4 separate regions of the Homo sapiens genome follow, and regions 2, 3 and 4 are each linked to region 1. Evidence: promoter capture Hi-C in human tissues and cell types (Jung and others, 2019). All regions are on one chromosome and are shown on one strand. The core of a region is centred on a gene start or on the middle of the fragment in contact, and the rest is flanking DNA. Distances in the headings are between cores, read along the strand shown. Region 1 holds the start of TBX6 (T-box transcription factor 6). Region 2 holds the start of RNF40 (ring finger protein 40). Region 3 overlaps SRCAP (Snf2 related CREBBP activator protein). Region 4 has its middle 15 kb from the start of SRCAP.

The links. The method cuts DNA at HindIII sites, captures the fragments that hold promoters and counts their contacts. A contact is called where the count stands out against the background at its distance.
Region 2: a contact is called between the fragment with the promoter of RNF40 here and the fragment with the promoter of TBX6 in region 1, in 4 of the 25 tissues and cell types used here (adrenal gland, lymphoblastoid cells, small bowel and 1 more).
Region 3: a fragment that was not itself captured here is called in contact with the fragment with the promoter of TBX6 in region 1 in 1 of the 25 tissues and cell types used here (bladder).
Region 4: a contact is called between a fragment that was not itself captured here and the fragment with the promoter of TBX6 in region 1, in 1 of the 25 tissues and cell types used here (dorsolateral prefrontal cortex).

The regions. Positions count from the first base shown.
Region 1 is chr16:30,090,180-30,093,606 of GRCh38, forward strand. It overlaps TBX6 (T-box transcription factor 6), which reads right to left and starts at 1,745. Exons shown (of 9, transcript NM_004608.4): 1 at 1,694-1,745; 2 at 897-1,062; 3 at 579-813. The coding sequence starts at 1,014. It overlaps YPEL3 (yippee like 3), which reads right to left. Exons shown (of 4, transcript NM_031477.5): 4 at 2,135-2,620. The coding sequence ends at 2,531. RefSeq lists enhancers at 209-1,082, 2,215-2,404 and a silencer at 1,735-1,994. The HindIII fragment of the contact is 30,865 bases long and covers 1-3,427 here.
Region 2 is chr16:30,760,789-30,764,215 of GRCh38, forward strand. RNF40 (ring finger protein 40) reads left to right here and starts at 1,534. Exons shown (of 20, transcript NM_014771.4): 1 at 1,534-1,572; 2 at 1,687-1,889; 3 at 2,330-2,497; 4 at 2,630-2,771; 5 at 3,391-3,427. The coding sequence starts at 1,758. PHKG2 (phosphorylase kinase catalytic subunit gamma 2) reads left to right here. Exons shown (of 10, transcript NM_000294.3): 10 at 1-388. CFAP119 (cilia and flagella associated protein 119) reads right to left here and starts at 1,274. Exons shown (of 9, transcript NM_001014979.3): 1 at 757-1,274; 2 at 410-441. The coding sequence starts at 960. RefSeq lists enhancers at 1-398, 363-512, 1,103-1,282, 1,238-1,875, 1,363-1,622 and 2 more and a silencer at 597-826. The HindIII fragment of the contact is 9,225 bases long and covers 1-3,427 here.
Region 3 is chr16:30,704,691-30,708,117 of GRCh38, forward strand. It overlaps SRCAP (Snf2 related CREBBP activator protein), which reads left to right. Exons shown (of 34, transcript NM_006662.3): 5 at 2,493-2,678; 6 at 2,882-3,022. Among named protein-coding and RNA genes, the nearest start is that of SNORA30, 4.1 kb to the right of the region's middle. The HindIII fragment of the contact is 5,132 bases long and covers 1-3,427 here.
Region 4 is chr16:30,682,550-30,685,976 of GRCh38, forward strand. No RefSeq gene overlaps it. Among named protein-coding and RNA genes, the nearest start is that of SRCAP, 15 kb to the right of the region's middle. RefSeq lists a silencer at 3,178-3,336. The HindIII fragment of the contact is 3,782 bases long and covers 1-3,427 here.

The sequences.
Region 1 (3,427 bases), core at 495-2,994:
CTGCAGCTCTTAGATGAATTTGCTTTAGAAAAAATATACCCTGCCTGCAGTAGGGCCGAGGACTTTCCATGCTAGGGCTTGAGTTCCTGCCCCAGCTAAAGACCTCATCTAAGGTCAAACACTGACCGTGTCCCTGCCTCTAGGGTGACCCTGGACCTAGTCATATACTGACTCCTATTCGAGTTGCATACTGATCCCGAATCCTGGCCAGATTTCCCTGATGCTGGTCAATGGGCTGGCCCTTGACCCCCTGTCCTTGTCTGGATGCTGGTCTAAGCCACACACTAACCTATAACCCAGAGGGACTTCCTGACCCTGCCCCAGACTGACCCATGACCCTTGCCATAGATTGGTCCCTAAACTCAGCCACAGACTCCACAGACTGGCCCTTAACCCTTGTCACAGAGTGACTCCTGATTCCTGCCACAGAGTAACCCTTGCCCCAGGCCATAGTCAGATTCTAGGCCTAGGCAGAGCTCTAGCCCCTCGGGAACCACCCAGTCCTAGCCCCCTCCCCAGGGACTCTGCCTTTCCCAAGAGACCCCCACCAGAAACACGGACCCTGGCCAGCCCCTCACCTCCCAGCTTTGGTGATGATCATTTCTGTTCCCACAGAGCTGAACTCCTTCCATAGCTCCCGGTTCTCCAGGCTCAGGCTGACCCCCGGGAGGGAATGGAGGGCCTCTGGAGCTGATGGGGCCGGCTCAGTGCCCATGGCAGGGGGCAGAAGGGGCAGAGGTGGGTGCGCGGCCAGGGTGCGGGGAGCAGCCTCCATCCCGGAGAGGAAGCAATCCAGTTTAGGGGTGTCCAGTTCTGGAAGCCGGGGAAGAATGAGGAGCCAGCCGAGGGCCACAGCCCCCCTATTCTCCTACCCAGGAGCTGGTCCCAACGCTCACCGGGGTAGCGGTAGCCCTCCGCTAGGGCGGGTGGGAAGCTGGAGTCGGCCCCAGGTTGGGCGGGCCCCAGGCGGTAGCCGGCCCCCAGGGACGGGTACAATTCTCGTGGATGGTACATGTTGTAGTTCCGTCTGGCCTCAGGTCTCGCTGCTTAGGGCCCCCGGTGCTGCGAGATGCCCCCTTTATAGCTCACAGCTCAGCCCCTTCCAGATCCAGGATCACAGCCCCTCCCCTCTTTGGGGCCCTGGAGTTGGGCTGGGGTGGAGACCCCTGGGGCCTCGAAGGGGTCCGAGAGGGGGTCGGATACCTGGGTACGGTCCCCTCCTCCCCTCCCTCCCCACCCCGGGAGGCTTCATTAGCCTCGACCCCCTGCCCCCTCATTACATAATTAACTCCTCGGCTTGATTGATCCCCAGGGCTCGGACAGGGACGCAGTTTGGCGCTTCCGGCCAGCTGGTCCCCGTTCCCACGGTGGGGAGCCCCGGCTAGGGATAAGCTGGGGGGCGGGGCCTGGAACCTGGACGGAGCCAAGAGTCCCGGGACACACCTTGGCGCCCCAGACCTTCTGGCAGGTGACCGCCCTCCGCCCCCCTTCACTTGGAGGCCGGGCCCTGGAGGGAAGCAGCGTGAACAGAGGGAAAGTGCAGGCTAGAGGGACGCGGCCTGAGCTGATTTCACAGGGCACTCGGGGCCGCGAGGAGGCCGCAGCCCAGTCCCGAGCACCGTAGTCCTCCCTGGTCCCCATGCTAAAAAAACCTCCATCCCGAGCCAAGCCTCCAAAGTTCGAAGGCGCTCACAGTCCGACAGCTTCTGACGCCTCGCGCCAGGGTTTCCCGAAGGTCCCGCGCTGGGGAACCCTCGGAACTACACTTCCCGGCAGGCTCAGCGCTGAGGCGCGCCCGAAGGAGCCGGACGGACCACGCGGGGGCCGCTGGGAGTTGCAGTCCGACCGCGAGGGGGCTGCGAGGCCGGCGGCGCGGTTGCCTCCCTGGGACGCTGCCCCTAGGCGGCGGCCAAACGCTGCAGATGAGCAGACGCAGATCAGCCGAGGTCACGGCGTAGGCAGCCAGAGTGGGCTCAGGACCTCCGCCAGCAGTGAAACCGTCCCGGTTCCCGGAGACCCAGCTTGGACGGCTGTGCCTACCCCATGCCCCGCCGGGGCTCAGAACCGCACAGGTCTATAGGGGCGGAAATCTCCGCTTGAGCTCCCCCTTCCCGGATTACACGCGAGCCTGAGCTGTCTCCACTCCATTGTTTTATTATGTACAAACGCTACAGAACGAGGGGGACAGACACGCGTGGGGTAAGAAGGGCCTGGTGGGAGGAGTTCACAGAGCAGACGGTGCACTGGGACCAGGAGAGCAGAACACAGGCCATAACTATAGGGCAGGTGGGGCAGGAACGGGTTAAAAACGAGATCCAAGCCAGCCAGATCGCAGGAGGTGCGGGGGCGTCGTCCCCCTTCTGTTCTCCCCCCAAGGTCACAGTGCATGCAATAAAATATATATACAGGAGCTAGATCCGTCCTCTGCAGGGGCTCTGAGGGTCCAGAGCTCCCTTCGGGTGGCGGGAAGCCAGTGGCGCTCCCTGGCGGCCAGGCCGGGCTGGAGCCACATGCGTCGGGGGAGCGGGGGTCAGTCCCAGCCGTTGTCTTTGATCATGTGGTTGAGTTCAATGATGTACTTCCCCTCTTTGTACTTCTGGCTGCTCTCAAAGGCCTGTTCCTGAAAGGAGGGGCGGGACCGTCATCCCCGGAGCAACAGTCTCACCACAAGGCACTGGGGTTGGGAAGTGGACATGAGTGGCCCCATTTTACATATGAGGAAACTGTGGCCCAGAGGGGCAGGGCCGTATTTCTCACAAACACAGAGTAGAATAGAACTCCCTGACTCAAAGGTACTTTTTTAAGTACTAATGATGGCTCCAACAGAGAAGATAGGGAAGTGGCTAAAAGATTTCACAGTTCAGGGTTTGCAAACTGGTAGCTTCATGGCCATTTTGGCCTACAACATGTATTATGTTTGGACAGCAGACAGTTTAATAAAAATAACTTTAAAGTATTAAAATATAAGTAGGCCTTGCTCACTCCAGTTTGCCCAGCCTGCCCCCAACTCCCAACCCTGCCAATCTATGCTACCCTTTACACATCTACAGTATCTGCTTGGCCTTGCAGGCACTTGAGGTTTTTTTGTTTGTTTGGTTTTGAGAGGGAGTCTTGCTCTGTCGCCCAGGCTGGAAGTGCAACGGCGCGATATCGGCTCACTGCAACCTCCGCTTCCCGGGTTCAAGTGATTCTGCTGCCTTGGCCCCGAGTAGCTGGGATTACAGGCGCCCACCACCACGCCGAGCTAATTTTTGTATTTTTAGTAGAGATGGGGTTTCACCATGTTAGTCAGGCTGTTCTCGAACTCCTGACCTCAGGTGATCCACCTGCCTCAGACTCCCAAAAGTGCTGGGATTACAGGCGTGAGCCACCACACCCAGCCTGGCACTTGAGTTTTTGACCTCTTGTTTAGGCCAGCTCTTTATTA
Region 2 (3,427 bases), core at 284-2,783, 670 kb after region 1:
GCTGTGTGACTATGCAAATCGTTAACTCTCTGGGCCTAAATGAACTCTTATGAGCCTCTCCATTTCTAAAGCCTAGGGTTAGGAATCTTGAATTCTTTTTTCTGCTCTGCCACTACCTTGTATGACCTTGGTCAAGTACTCCCTGTGGCCCTCAGTGTCCCCCTCTGTACAATACTCCTTAGCGGCCATGAGACTCCATTTACATTCTGTCTTTGGCTCTTTTTTTCTCACACTGCCTCCTCTTTGGACTGGAGAGGCTGGAAAGCCAACTTCCAGTCACCTGGAGTAATTGCATCTCCAGGCCTCAGTCTCATCTGTAAAATGGGGATGCCCTGGCCACAGACAGGACTGTTGGGGAGACAATAAAGAACGCAAATATTCAGTGTAATTTTTGTCTCTTCACACTCACCACATGCAGATCCGGGGTCGGGGCAGCGGCGGCTGCGGAAAGAAAGCGAATTGGGGAAGGCAGCTGCGGTGTCCTGGCCCGTAGCGAATCTCCAGCAGGCCGGAGAAGCCGCTGTAACTTGCCATCTCATCTCAAGGACTAAGGAGAGGCGCGGGCGAGGGAGGGCTTCAGCAGGCCCTAGGTGCTCTACGCGAGCACAGTAACCACCGGGGTCACACACCCCTGCCTCTCCTCGCCCAAGCAGCCCGGGAGACGTCCCGAACGTTAGTAAGCATAATGACAGGTGGCGCCTGCGGGGGAGCCGGTTTATAAATATTCACGAGCAGACCAGACTGTCCCGCCCTCACCGGAAACAAGTTGGCTCCGGGGTCTTCATCCGCTTTCGCCGCCGCCGCCGTCGTCCACTGAGTCCGCACACTCGCACGCGTCCGCGCGGCCGACCCATGCACTGAGCTGCGATCCTTCCCCGCTTCCCGCCGCAGCTCGGAGAGATGTTCAAGCTCCGACTGCACCCTCATTCCCAAAAAGTGGCTGGTCTTGCGGTTGAGCATCTCGCCGCTCTTCCGTGCCGCGAGGCGCCCCGGGCTCCCGCCGCCTAGGTTCCAGGACAGCCAGCGCTCGGTCGGCGGCTACCAAGGCCGGGCCCGTTCGCCTCGCTCCGGCCAATCTACGCGCGGAGAGGCGCGGCGGGGCGAATCCGTGGGGGCGTCTCCCTCCGTCTCAACGGCGACGGTTGCCAAGGGGGCTTGTGAGGGAAGGAAGGCGGAAAGCGCAGGCTCACGCCAGTGGGAGCGAAGAGAACGCGCAGATACGTGAGAAGTTGCGAGTGCCCACCTGGGCGCCCTCTCTTCCAGGTTGCTAATACGAGGGCCGGTGCTGTCCTCCAGGCTGGGAAGTGGGAGCGCGGTGTCAGTTACTATGGGAACTGCCTCTTGGCCAATCACCGAGAGAAAGAGGAGGTGTTTGGGAAGAAGCCAGAGGACCCGAGTGGCGGGACCAAGCGTAACCAATAGAAGCAGAAGATAAAGAAGTTTCCTCACATCCGGGGCTGCCTTTGGCGCCTGCGCCCTGCGCACCGTTGGGGGGGGGGCAGTGGCGTCCAGTGACGCCCAGTGACGTCCGGTGAAATCCAAGATGGCGGCGCTAGGCTGACCCTCCTGCTGGTGAGGGCTCTGGCGCCGGGGGGGACGGGATCCAGCAGGTGTGTGCAGGGTGGAGGGTGTTTGGGGCTGTGGAACACCAGCCGTTCCCACATCTCTGCTCTGTGTCTTCTGCAGGTGACGGAAGTACCGCCTCCTCCCGTTTGACGCCCCTCAGGGGACCCTGCATCGCTCCAGCCGCCGCGGCCATGTCTGGGCCAGGCAACAAACGCGCCGCCGGCGACGGGGGCTCAGGGCCCCCGGAAAAGAAGCTGAGTCGTGAGGAGAAGACCACCACGACTCTTATCGAGCCCATTCGTCTTGGAGGCATCTCTTCCACGGTTCGTGGGCTCTTGCCTTAACCCTCAGAACTTCCCAGAGCCCTCCCTCTGTTCTCTGGCCAAACTGTGCGGAATCTTACACCCACTTCCCCAAGTTTAGCAAGGTCCGCGTTACAGGACCTTGAAAGAAAGGTTAGAAAGAAGCTCAGAACACGACGCCTGTCTTCCCTTTACAGATAGGAAAACAGGTTTCCAGGGGGCGTGTGACTTGTCAAAGACTAAGGATTTACAAGGGGACAGGCAGAAACAACGTGAGCCTCCTCACAACAAAGACACTTTCGCTGTGTGTTGTCTGAGCCTCCTTAGATTCTGTTAGCGGTTAGTGTGGGAATACCTCCATCTCCCATGCATTGCAGATGCTCTGCTCCTCTTTCTCTCTCTGTGATTGGTTTGTGGGCCCTGCTTGACGCTCTCGTCGGCCCCTTTGTTTCCTTTGGTAGGAGGAGATGGACCTGAAGGTACTACAGTTCAAGAACAAGAAACTGGCAGAGCGGCTGGAACAACGGCAGGCTTGTGAAGATGAACTCCGAGAACGAATTGAGAAGTTGGAGAAGCGGCAGGCCACAGATGATGCCACACTCCTCATCGTCAATCGCTACTGGGCCCAGGTGGATACCTTCTGCTTTCAAAGACCAGGCCTTGATTCAGCTGCCAATCCCCAGATTCCCCTGCTAGGAAAGGAGTATCATGTTGGAAAGCACTAAGGGATTCATAACATTTTTGATGTTTTCTCCTTCCAGCTGGATGAAACTGTGGAAGCCCTTCTCCGATGCCATGAGAGCCAGGGGGAGCTGTCTTCAGCGCCTGAGGCACCTGGGACCCAGGAGGGGCCAACATGTGATGGGACTCCTCTCCCAGAGCCGGGGACATCAGAGCTGAGAGGTAGGACCAGAGTGCTGGGATCTGGGGAGCTTAAGTTCTGGGAGAAGTCCTGGGGAGGAGGGGACTTTGGTGTTGGGCCCCTGAATTGCCTATCTTACTACTTCTCACGAAATGGATTTCATGTTTGGGCAGTAAAGTGCAGTGCACAAAAACACAGGCTTTAGACTCTGACTAACTTGGTTTATAGAGCAATTCATGTTTTGACACCCATTTGTTTCAAAACAGTATTATGGTTGAGTATTAAATATGTATTTGACGCTTCCTAGAAATGAGTGTTGCACTTGCTATAAGGGAGGAAATTATAAACATAGTAAGCAGAAAGTACTGGGGCTCCTGAAACGGAATGATTGTGTGTGCATGCATGTGCGTGTGATTCTAATTATATTGGTAAAGTACAGGAAGCTTCCCTGAGGATGTGATACGCAACTCTGTAGCTTTGAGGAAATTACTTTACCTCCCTGAATTTCATTTGTCTCACTTTCAGGATGGAGATAATAGTGCACTATAGGTTGTGTTGATTAAGTGAACCATGAGTATTGAAGGGCTCAGTCTGGAACTTGGTACAGAGTGGTAGTAACTGCTGCTCTTATCCTCATGAGGGTCTGTCCATTCCTTCCAGACCCCTTGCTGATGCAGCTGCGGCCCCCTCTCAGTGA
Region 3 (3,427 bases), core at 623-3,122, 610 kb after region 1:
TAGCTGGGTATAGTCGCACATGCCTGTAGCAGTCGCAGCCACCCAGGAGCCTGAGTTGAGAGGATCACCTGAGCCCAGGAGGTCAGGGCTGCAGTGAGCCACGATTATGCCACTGCACTCCAGCCTGAGCAACCGAGTAAGATCCTGTCTCAAAAAAAAAGGAGAAAATAGACACAAAAGCACTTTGTAAACTGTGATGCTCTTAAGATTTACTGGTTTCTATTTATTTCTATCGTGCAGTCTGTATTACATTTATCCAGTGGTAAGTGTGGTCTCTGGGCCAGCAGCATCAGCATCACCTGGGAACTTAGTAGAAACACAAATTCTTTGCCGGGCGTGGTGGCTCATGCCTGTAATCCCAGCACTTTGGGAGGCCGAGGCGGGTGGATCACCTGAGGTCAGGAGTTCGAGACCAGCCTGGCCAACGTGGCAAAATCCCATCTCTGCTAAAAATACAAAAATTAGCCTGGCGTGGTGGCGCAGGCCTGTAGTCCTAGCTACTCAGGAAGCTGAGGCAGGGAAATTGCTTGAACTGGGAACCGGAGGTTGCAGTGACCTGAGATGATGCCACTGCACACCAGCCTGGGTAACAGTGAGACTCTGTCTCAAAAAAAAATGCAAATTCTTGGTACCTCTCACCCACCGACCCATTTGAAACTATGAGGGTAGGGCCCAGCAATGTTTTTATTTTTTATTTTTATTTTTATTTTATTTATTTATTTTGTTGAGACGGAGTCTCGCTCTGTCGCCCAGGCTGGAGTGCAGTGGCAGAATTTTGGCTCACTGCAAGCTCCGCCTCCCGGGTTCACAGCCATTCTCTGGCCTCAGCCTCCTGAGTAGCTAGGACTACAGGCGCCCGCCATCACACCCGGCTAAATTTTTTGTATTTTTAGTAGAGATGGGGTTTCACCATGTTGGCGGGATGGTCTTGATCTCTTGACCTTGTGATCTGCCAGCCTCGGCCTCTGAAAGTGCTGGGATTACAGGCATGAGCCACTGCGCCCGGCCACAATTGGGTTTTTTTTTTTTTCCTTGAGACGGAGTCTCAGTCTTTCGCTGAGGCTGGAGTGCAGTGGCATGATCTCGGCTCACTGCAAGCTCCGCCTCCTGGGTTCACGCCATTCTCCTGCCTCAGCCTCCCGAGTAGCTGGGACTAAGCGCTCGCCACTATGCCTGGCTAATTTTTTGTGTTTTTAGTAGACACGGGGTTTCACCGTTTTAGCCAAGATGGTCTCGATCTCCTGACCTTGTGATCCACCCGCCTTGGCCTCCCAAAGTGCTGGGATTACAGGTGTGAGCACAACCTGTTTCTAAAAGTCCTCCAGATGATTCCGGTGCCTCCTCAAGTTTGAGAGCAGCTGGTCTAATATCCACGTCTTTCTTGATGTTTCCTTCACTGTCAGGCCATTTAGTCCTGTCTGGTCTCTGGCTGTCATTTTCTCTGATTTAGTTTTTATCAGGAGAGGACAGAAATAACAAAGACAGAGGCTGGGTGCGGTGGTTTTCGCCTATAATCTGAGCATTTTGGGAATCCCAGGCAGGCGGATTGCTTAAACCCAGGAGTTCCAGACCAGCCTTGACATTGTGAAACCTCGCCCCTACGAAAAATACAAAAAAATTAGCTGGGCATGGTTGCATGTGCCTATAGTCAGTCTCAGCTACCTGGGAGGCTGAGTTGGGAGGCTGAGTTGGGAAGATAACCTGAGCCTAGGCAGCAGAGTGAGACCCAGAAAAATCTCACTCAGATTTCTGAGTGAGATTCAGAAAAAGAAATAAGGCAGTTGTCCTGAATTTTTTGAGTCGTCTCTGTCAAAAAAATTTTAAATGCTTTTTAAATAAAAGACAATCAGTGTAGAAGCTTTAGTAAAAATGACCACTCTTTTTTACACCTAATCAGTGTTAAACATTTCACGTATAACGTTTCAGTATTTTTTACATAAACATATGCATTTTTACAAAAGTAGTATTTTTAAAAACAACAGTGTGTCAGTTGGGCATTATAGCATATTTCTAAGCTTAATGCATCATGAAAATACTCTGAGTAAGTAGAATTCTACAATGATGATGACCCCTTGTATCTAGAATCAAGAGGGAAGTATGTGTTCCCTACTCCTCTGGGAAGCTCCTCTTGGGATATGATTTCCCAAGTCTCTCCTATGTCTATGGGGTGTGGAGATTGTGTTAAATAATGGAAAGAGCATGAAATTTGCTGTCTGGAGTCCTCAGACCTATTTTTGATTCACATTTTCTATTACTTTCTAGCTGTGTGATCTTGGGCAAATCACTTAATCTCCCTGATCTTTTTTCCTTCTTCATCTCCCTGATCTTTTTTCCCTTCTCTGAAGAGAGTATGATACCTGCCTGTAAGTTTGGTATGTGGACTAAACATAAGCATAACACACTCAGCCCACTTAGTGCTCAGGAATTCAGCCGTGGCAGTGAGATGGAGTGTGTGTTTAGAACTGTTGATTGATCTGGCTCTCCCTGATTAGGAGGCCGAGATCGAGACTCGGATTGCTGAGCTGCGGAAGGAGGGTTTCTGGTCACTGAAGAGGCTGCCTAAGGTGCCAGAGCCCCCTCGCCCCAAAGGTCACTGGGACTATTTGTGCGAAGAGATGCAGTGGCTCTCTGCTGACTTTGCTCAGGAGCGCCGTTGGAAACGGGGTGTGGCCCGGAAGGTAGGTCTTCCGCTGGGACTTCCTTCCTTTTCCTTTTCAGGTCTGTTCCTTCCCGGTTTGTTGGAAGGGGACCAGACAGAATGGTGTAGGCATTAAGAGCAAACTCTTGATTTTCCAGATTTCTTGGCCTTGATTATTTTCTTTGCCTTTGGGTGGGGAAGTCTGGCTTTGAGTGTTTTCACCCTGGGTCTTCATTCCCACAGGTGGTGCGCATGGTGATCCGGCACCACGAGGAGCAGCGGCAGAAAGAGGAACGGGCCCGGAGGGAGGAGCAGGCCAAGCTGCGTCGAATTGCTTCCACCATGGCCAAGGATGTCAGGCAGTTCTGGAGCAATGTGGAGAAGGTAGACAGTGGGGATCAGGAAAGGAAAATGGCCTTGGATTAGATTGGTAGATGGCGTGGTAGTAGGAATGATCAAAACTTCTTGAGGGAGTAAATATAATTTCAGGCAACTCTAATGACGTTTATGTTGTATGGATAAAAAAGTATAGTGGCAAAATATGGGTCCTGCCTTTGGGGATTGTTAATAGTTCTCCTTGACACCTCTAGGCCATCTGTCCCTTGCAGGGCATTTAGCATGTGTTTACTGAAATGTATTTGTGCCACTTAGCACATGCTTAAATTCCGTCAAAGTTCCCACTGCCTGTATAGTAAGTTGTAATTATTTCTTAAGTACTACCCAGTTTCCGTCTGTATTTTCGGTCTTGCCTCCTGCCATGTTCATTCCTTCTCCCTTCCACTCCACACC
Region 4 (3,427 bases), core at 434-2,933, 590 kb after region 1:
GAGGTGCTCATCAATAAATGGAGATGGGCTGGGCGCGGTGGCTCATGCCTGTAATCCCAACACTTTGGGAGACCGAGGCGGGCAGATCACCTTAGGTCAGGAGTTTGAGACCAGCCTGGCCAACATGGTGAAACCCCATCTCTACTAAAAATGCAAAAATTATCCCAGCGTGGTGGCACATGCCTATAATCCCAGATACTCGGGAGGCTGAGGCAGGAGAATTGCTTGAATCCGGGGGCGGATGCTGCAGTGAGCAGAGATCATGCCACTGCACTCCAGCCTGGGTGACAGAGCAAGATTCTGTTTCTCCCATATGGAAAGAAAGGTCATCCATATGGGAGAAGATGAAATTAAATCAGTGACCTGCCGGGCGCAGTGGCTCGTGCCTATAATCCCAGCACTTTGGGAGGCCGAGGCAGTTGGATCACGAGGTCAGGAGTTCGAGACCAGCCTGGCCAAGATGGTGAAACACTGTCTCTACTAAAAATACAAAAATTAGCAAGGCACAGTGGTGGGCGCCTGTAATCCCAGCTACTTGGGAGGCTGAGGCAGAAGAATTGCTTGAACCTGGGAGGCAGAGGTTTCAGTGAGCCGAGATCATGCCACTGCACTCTAGCCTGGGCAACAGAGCAAGACTCTGTCTCCAAAAAAAAAAAAAAAATCAGTGAAAAAATCAGTGACCCACACTATATTCAAAAGTCAACTCAATATATAAGGACTTAATTATCAAAAGCAAAACTAAAACTTTAAGGAGAAAAGTAAGGGAATTTCTTTCTGAAGTTGGGAGTAATGAAAACTCAAACAACACAAAAGGTTAACTATAAAAGAAAATAGTAATGAATGAAACTATACTAAAATGAATGAAATTATAAGCTACAAACTTGAAGAAGATATGTGTAAACACATATAGCCATTCAAAAATATATACTGAGATAACCTAAAGGCCTTGTAAAAATCAGTAAAGCCAGCCAGGCATGGTGGCTCAAGCCTGTAATCCCAGCACTTTGGGAGGCCAAGGTGGGTGGATCACGAGGTCAGGAGATCGAGACCATACTGGCTAACATGGTGAAACCCCGTCTCTACTAAAAATACAAAAAAAATTAGCCAGGCATGGTGGCGGGCACCTGTAGTCTCAGCTACTCGGGAGGCTGAGGCAGGAGAATGGTGTGAACCCAGGAGGAGGAGCTTGGAGTGAGCCAAGATCGCGCCACTGTACTCCAGCCTGGGCAACTGAGCAAGACTCCGTCTCAAAAAAAAAAAAAAAAAAGAAAAAGAAAAAGAAAAAATCAGTAAAGCCAGCCTGTGCAACATAGTAAGACTGTCTCTACTGAAAAAAAAATTAGTCGGGTATGGTGGTGTGCAACTGTAGTCTCAGCTACTCAGGAGGCTGAGGAGGGAGGATCACTTTAGCACAGGAGTTCGAGGCTTCAGTGAACTATGTCATGCCACTGTACTCTAGCCTGGGCAACAGAGCGAAACCCTGTCTTGAAAAAATCAATAAATGACAATAAGCTAGTAGAAAAATGGACACAAGACTTGAACATGCATTTCAACAAGAACGAAACATGGCTAAAAAGCTTATGAAGAGATGCTCACCATCATTAGTGATCAAGGAAATATAGATTGAGATCATAATGAGATACTATTTTATACCCAGTATATGGCAAAAATTAAGAAGTCAGATAACACCAAGTATTGAACAACAGATCTTCTATACATTGCTGGAGGGAATCTGTATCTGTACAGCCATTTTGAAGAAGATTATCTTTTTTTTTTTTTTGAGACAGAGTCTTGCTCTGTTGCCCAAGCTGGAGTACAATGGTACGATTTCGGCTCACTGCAGCCTCTGCCTCAGCCTCCCAAGTAGCTGGGGACTAAAGGTGCATGCCACCACACCCGGCTAACTTTTGTATTTTCTGGTGGAGATGGGATTTCACCATGTTGCCCAGGCTAGTCTTGAACTCTTGGCCTCAAGTGATCCACCTACCTCGGCCTCCCAAATGCTGGGATTACGGGCCTGAGCCACCGCGCCCAGCCAAAAATTATCATTATCTTGTCAAATTGAACATTTACATACCTTAAAACCCAGCAGTTCCATTTTTGGGCAAATATCCAGGAGTAAGTCTTGCTCAAGTGTTCCAGGAGACATGTACATGAATATTCATAACTGCAGTCAACATATGATAGAAACACTCATAAAGAAACCAAAATGCCCTTCAACAGGAGAACAGATAAATACATTGGGGTACCTTGACAAAATAAAATATTATAAAAGAGTGAAATTTCGGCTGGGCGCGGTGGCTCACGCCTGTAATCCCAGCACTTTGGGAGGCCGAGGCGGGTGGATCACGAGGTCAGGAGATCGAGACCATCCTGGCTAACATGGTGAAACCCCGTCTTCACTAAAAATACAAAAAGTTCTCCGGGCGTGGTGGTGGGCGCCTGTAGTCCCAGCTACTCGGGAGGCTGAGGCAGGAGAATGACGTGAGCCCAGGAGGCAGAGCTTGCAGTGAGCGGAGATCGCGCCACTGCACTATAGCCTGGGCGACAGAGCAACACTCCATCTCAAAAAAAAAAAAAAAAAAAAAAGTGAAATTTCAATGAACCACAGCCACACATAAAAGTATGAATGATTTTTGTCAATACAATATCGAGTGTAAAAAAGAAACAGCTTGCCAGGCGCGGTGGCTCACGCCTGTAATCCCAGCATTTTGGGAGGCCGAGGTGGGCGGATCATGAGATCAGGAGATTGAGACCATCCTGGCTAACACAGTGAAACCCCGCCTCTACTAAAAATACAAAAAATTATCCGGGCGTGGTGGCGGGTGCCTGTAGTCCCAGCTACTCGGGAGGCTGAGGCAGGAGAATGGCGTGAACCCAGGAGGCGGAGCTTGCAGTGAGCCGAGATTGCGCCACTGCACTCCAGCCTGGGCAACAGAGCGAGACTCCGTCTCAAAAAGAAAGAAAGAAACAGCTCTAGAGGATTACATACACCATTATACTCTTTTATTATTACTTTTTAAATTTTATTTACTTATTTATTTACTTTGAGACGGAGTCTTGCGTTGTCGCCCAGGCAGGAATGCAGTGGCGCGATCCCGCCTCACTGCAACCTCCACCTCCCAGGTTCAAGTGATTCTCCCACCTCAGCCTCCAGAGTAGCTAGGCATACAGGAGCGCACCATCATGCCTGGCTAATTTTTTGGTATTTTTAGTACACAACGGAGTTTCACTATGTTGGCCAGGATGGTCTCGAACTCCTGACCTCAGGTGATCTGCCCGCCTCAGCCTCCCAAAGTGCTGGGATTACAGGCGTGAGCCACTGTGCCTGGCTCATCGTCCTTTCTTTCTAAAGCTTGCACATACGCCATTTACGGTTACAGCACAATTGAATCAAACAATCCCTAACTACTGCAGTTTTTTCTTT